2 separate regions of the Homo sapiens genome follow, and region 1 is linked to region 2. The links are contacts of gene promoters, found by promoter capture Hi-C in human tissues and cell types (Jung and others, 2019). All regions are on one chromosome and are shown on one strand. The core of a region is centred on a gene start or on the middle of the fragment in contact, and the rest is flanking DNA. Distances in the headings are between cores, read along the strand shown. Region 1 has its middle 37 kb from the start of PARVA. Region 2 holds the start of TEAD1 (TEA domain transcription factor 1).

The links. Contacts are between HindIII fragments. The study calls those that stand out against the background at their distance.
Region 1: a fragment that was not itself captured here is called in contact with the fragment with the promoter of TEAD1 in region 2 in 1 of the 25 tissues and cell types used here (mesendoderm cells).

The regions. Positions count from the first base shown.
Region 1 is chr11:12,339,461-12,342,160 of GRCh38, forward strand. It overlaps a transcript of MICAL2 not described here. Among named protein-coding and RNA genes, the nearest start is that of PARVA, 37 kb to the right of the region's middle. The HindIII fragment of the contact is 6,094 bases long and covers 1-2,700 here.
Region 2 is chr11:12,673,160-12,675,859 of GRCh38, forward strand. It overlaps TEAD1 (TEA domain transcription factor 1), which reads left to right and starts at 1,262. Exons shown (of 13, transcript NM_021961.6): 1 at 1,262-1,675; 2 at 2,250-2,402. RefSeq lists a silencer at 954-1,253 and an enhancer at 2,089-2,700. The HindIII fragment of the contact is 23,361 bases long and covers 1-2,700 here.

The DNA.
Region 1 (2,700 bases), core at 107-2,606, 330 kb before region 2:
TCCATCCAGCTTTGTTCCGTTGCTGGTGAGGAGCTGTGTTCCTTTGGATGAGGAAAGGCACTCTGATTTTTAGAGTTTCCAGTTTTTCTGCTCTGTTTTTTCCCCATCTTTGTGGTTTTATCTACCTTTGGTCTTTGATGATGGTGATGTACAGATGGGTTTTTGGTGTGGATGTCCTTTCTGTTTGTTAGTTTTCCTTCTAACAGTCAGGACCCTCAGCTGCAGGTCTGTTGGAGTTTGCTGGAGATCCACTCCAGACCCATTTGCCTGGGTATCAGCAGTGGTGGCTGCAGAACAGCGGATATTGGTGAACCGCAAATGCTGCTGCCTGATCGTTCCTTTGGAAGTTTTGTCTCAGAGGAGTACCCAGCCTTGTGAGGTGTCAGTCTGCCCCTACTGGGGGGTGCCTCCCAGTTAGGCTACTCGGGGGTCAGGGACCCACTTGAGGAGGCAGTCTGCCCGTTCTCAGTTCTCAAGCTGTGTGCTGGGAGAACCACTACTCTCTTCAAAGCTCAGTTGGAAATGCAGAAATCACCCATCTTCTGCGTCGCTCACGCTGGGAGCTATAGACTGGAGCTGTTCCAATTCAGCCATCTTGGCTCTACCTTCCAGAATATTTTCAATCCACAGTTGGTTGAATCTGAGGATGTAGAACCCTCAGATACAGACGGTCAACTGTGTTTGCAAAAAAAATAACCAAAAAAGAATCAGCATTCTAGAATATTCCCACTGTTACAAATCAGTAAGAAATAGGCAAACAACCCAATATAAATATAGACAAATGACATAAATATTCTCTTCACAGAAGAATACTTAATGTCCAATAAATCTGTGAAAAAGACAGGAAAATACAAATAATTCAGACTACAGTAAAAAACTATGGAAAACTATTAAATTATTAGAACTTTAAAAATCTGATAATACTAAGCATTTGGCAAGGGTGAGGGACAAGGTGCACTCTTATTCAATGTTAATGGGAACACAAATTGTCACAACACTTTGGAAAACAATTGGGCTTTAGGCTGTGAAGTTGAATATGTGCATACGCTACAATTTAAGAATTTCATTCCTAATATATACTCCAGAGAAACTCTTACCCACGTGGCCAAAAAGACACATACAAGAATGCTCATAACAGCATCACTCATAATAGCAGAACTCTAAGAACAACTCAGATATCCATTAACAGGAAAATGGATAATTTGTGGTATAGTCATACAACCGAATGTTATATATACAGCAGTGAAAATGAATCAGTCACATGGATGCATTTTTACAACATAATTTTGAATTTAAAACAAGCAAGTTATGGAAGAATACATATAGTATAATACAATTTCACTAAAGCCCAAAGTCAAGAAAAACTAATTTTTTTGTTTCTAAAGAATATACAGATTAAAACAAAACAAAAAGTAATTTAAAAGGGAAAGATTAGAATTTTTATTTTTCAGCTGCATGCTCTGACTCCCAGAACAGAATTGTGAGCTAGCTACTAGCATCTTGGGCTTGTCAAGACTGAATCAGGCCAGATTCACAGCACAGCTTTCTGGATTATCATCATTCTGTGTAAGGAGCCTGTGGGAGGCAGACATACCCAGAGCTCCACATATGAAGGGTGGTAGAAACTTGAATGAAACAGGTCTGTGCATGAGCTCCAGAGTGGAGTGCTGACCAGAGACCAGAGAACAAAAGACAGGGACCGAAACCCAGCCATTCCAGGGGAGAGGCCCTGCACAGTGCTATTGAGAGTTCCTGCTCCACTTTCTCTAAAGCCCCTTGAAGGCCCCTAGATCATCAGTGAAGATGAAGACTACATCAACAAAATTGCAGCGAACACTGAATTAGGACTTCTCACAGATTCTAAGGAGGTGCAAAATCACATCAAAAGAGATAGATAGTTATGAACCACGCAGCAAAACAAGACCCAACTTGGATAAAAAACACACACCAATACATAATCAGAGAAGCCTTCAGCATTACCTACAAAAAAAAAGGTTAAAAACAAACAAAAAAAAAGACATAAGTTTAAAGAATAAATAGATCGTTTTTTTTCTCTACTACTATCTATTCCAAAAAATGTTATTGGCCCGGCGCGGTGGCTTATGCCTCTAATCCCAGCACTTTGGGAGGCCAAGACAGGCAGATTACCTAAGGTCAGGAGTTCAAGACCAGCCTGGCCAACATGGTGAAACCCCATCTCTACGAAAAATATAAAAATTAGCCGAGCATGGTGGCGCATGCCTGTAGTCCCAGCTACTTGGGAGGCTGAGGCAAAAGAATAGCTTGAACCCGGGAGGTGGAGTTTGTGGTGGGCCAAAATTGCACCACTGCACTCTAGCCTGGGCATCAGAGCAAGACTCTTTCTCAAAAAGAAAAGAAAAGAAAAGAAAAAAGTTATTGACCTTTACATGCCAATCATCGTAGGGTAAGTAGGGACTAAGATTTACCAGCCTTGGTGGTTGGAAGTAACATAGTGTGCTTTGCAATTTTGAGAGTACTCTTGGGCAAAACTGAGTCAATATAAATGACTCTATTAATAAAAAGTCACTTTGTGTTGGGTTTTGATCATTTCACCTCAGCAAGTGGGATACTTACATTTCGCACAGGAAAAGGCATGAGATGAGGACACAGGAGCAATTGAAGAGCCAGTTGACAGTGGACCCAGGCAGAGGGTGAGCGGAAGAAAGGGCTGGAGAACTG
Region 2 (2,700 bases), core at 12-2,511:
CAGAGCAAGATCCTGTCTCCAAAAATAAAATAAAAAAAAAATTAAAAAAAAGGAAAACAATGTATTAGTAAAAGTTATGTTTTGTAGAAATGTGTTGCACTCAGTCACAGTCTAGTCTCCTCAGTTACCCATATATAGGGATATAGGGATTCCTCGGGCACAAAATATGTTGTTATTTAATCCTGAGGCCTCAGCTGGAAAAGAGAGCCAAGTGCCTAGAACGAATGAGGTCCACTGTGCGGGAACTGCTTTGCAGTTTGTTAAATAATTATAACAATCACCCGAAACTTTAGACGGTTCTGTCCCCAGTGGGTCGATTTTACCCGTTTTCTGATTTACCGACTGCGTCTATGTCACTTTTGCGTCACTACCTCCAATGGCAGGGTTAAAATGATTCCTTTAATAATGAAATGAAGTTTCTCAATAATGAAAGGGCTAACTTAAAGTCGCCGGATGCAGCATTTCAAAGTTTAGGAAGTTACTTTTGAAAAGTACAACCGGCAGAGATGAGTGAACTTAGTTTTTTAACTGACTTGGAGAAGACCTTGCTAGCAGGGCAGGTTTATTACGAACTCTGTAATTATCCTTCTTTGCTAAGCTAAAGGTTTTCCTTTCCCAACCGTAAGACAGATTTCGACTTGAGTGAGAGCTGTGAACTTTTATAAAAGTGAAAGGGAAGAGAAGAAATGGCAGGCTGGGAATCTGGCCCGGAGACGGCGTCCACCGCGCTCGAGAGCAACAATCTGCATCACCAGAAAGGCAACTTCTCTACCCTACACTTGCAGACTTCCGCGAGTCCGGGAGCACTCAACGCAGTCACCCGCGCTTCCGCGTCCCGGACTAGGGAAACTGAGGCACGGTAGGCGCGTCGCGCGCAACTCCCGCCTCGGCGCCTGCCCCCTGGAAGAAACCCAGGCTTCCAGAGTTCTTCGCGCGAGCGCAGGGACTTCCAAGCCGCGCAGCTCCCGTCCGCCCCGCCCCGCCCCGCCCCGGCTCGGGACAAAGCCCGGAGCCCGCGCCGGGAGACGGAGGGCGGCTCCCGCGCGAGCCACGCTCCCCCGTGGGCGCGAGACTCCGCCCAGCTGCCGAAAGCCCGCGCCCCAACGGCGAAGCAGCCGCGCCGGTCCGCCCCGATTCCCCATGACGTCACCGGCGGCGGCAGGCCCCGCCTCCAGCCCCGGGCGGCAGGCCGCATGACGTCACCGAGGCCCCACCCCTCCGGAGCGAGTTCGGTCCTGGCGTTCATTTCATTCCTGTCCTCATTCCGAACATTCTTAGCATCGCTCGCGCCGCGCCGCGCCGCCTGAGCCGAGCCGAGCCTCTGCTGCCGCCGCCGCGGCCCCGCCGCCCGCCGCGGGCGCCCACCAAGCACTTTGCAGACTCGCTTCCACCCTGCGGGCCATTCCGCGCGGCGGGGCCCGGGCCCGGGGCGGCCGCGTCCAGGCACAGGCCATGCAGTGACGCCCCCCCACCCCTCCACCTTTGCCCGGAGCGCGGGCAGCAGCCCAGCGCGCCAGCCGGCCCCGGGGCAGGAGCGGTGCTAGGCAGGGGTGGGGTGGCCGGGCCCAGGGACCGGGAGCCGGGGAGGGAGCCGGGCACCGAGCAGAGGGCGGGGGAAGCGGCGCCGAAGTTTGCCTCGGACTCGCCGGGCGCTGCGGTGGCTCCCTGGGCCGAGGTAAGTTGGCGCGCGGGGCGGATGCTGGGGTGCGGGGGGCGCACGGGGCAGCGGGGGGCCGGCGGCGCGTCCCTCGCGGGCCGCTCTTTCTTTGCGGGCTCTGCTTTGTGTGCGACGGCGGGCGGGCACGCGGAGGGCCGCGGCCGGGCCCCCACACCCGCCTCCCCGCGCCCCCTCCGAGGTGAGCGGCCGGGCGCCGCCGCGCGACTTGCCAGGACGCCAAGTTGGGCCGCGCGCTGGGAGCCCGCGCGGCAACAGGCGGCCCCCGGCCGGCCGCGCCGCGCCCCCCGCGCGCCCCCTCTCCCGCCGCCTGCACGCGCACACACGCACACACCCTCGGGCGCCTTGGACGGGGTGCGCTGGGGAGCCAGAAGTTCGGAGCGAGCGCGGGCGGGCAGAGCCGCCGCCTCGGAGCCCGGAGCCGGCCTGCACCCCCCTGCTTTCGCCGCCGCCCCCCGGCGCCGGGTACCCCCGAGGCCGGCCCGGGTCTGCGCAGACTTGTGCCGCTGGCGGGGGGTTCGCTCCTTCTTCTCAAAGATGAAAAAGGGCACGGTCGTCTTTGCCGCTTCTCCAGGACTGTTGCTGCCGCTGCCGCCGCCGCTTCATTGCACATTCAAGTGGAAAATTTTCAGGAGTCAGCAGAAACATTGTGTCCAAAAAAGACTGAGTCGCAGTTACCACCAAACCCAGGAGGAGACTCTCCCTGGAAAACTTCCCTTCCCTTTCGGTAGGAAATACTGGGGGATTTGTTTGTTGATTGGAAGAGAAATGATCCCCGGGGGGGAGAAAATCTGGGTACACTTCTAGTCTTTGTTCGTAACAGCAACACTTGTTTTCAAAAGTCCAGAGTCCCGCTTTAAAGAAAGTTTAACTTCTGTGACTTTTCTTCTTTTTAAAAAAATAACTTTTGTATTTTTAAAAAATCAAAGCAATATTTTTAATGAGTCGAAAACAATGAGGACTCACACCTCCCCTCTCATGAAAATAAATGAAATCCAGATCAGAATTTTCTTTGCTTTTAAATT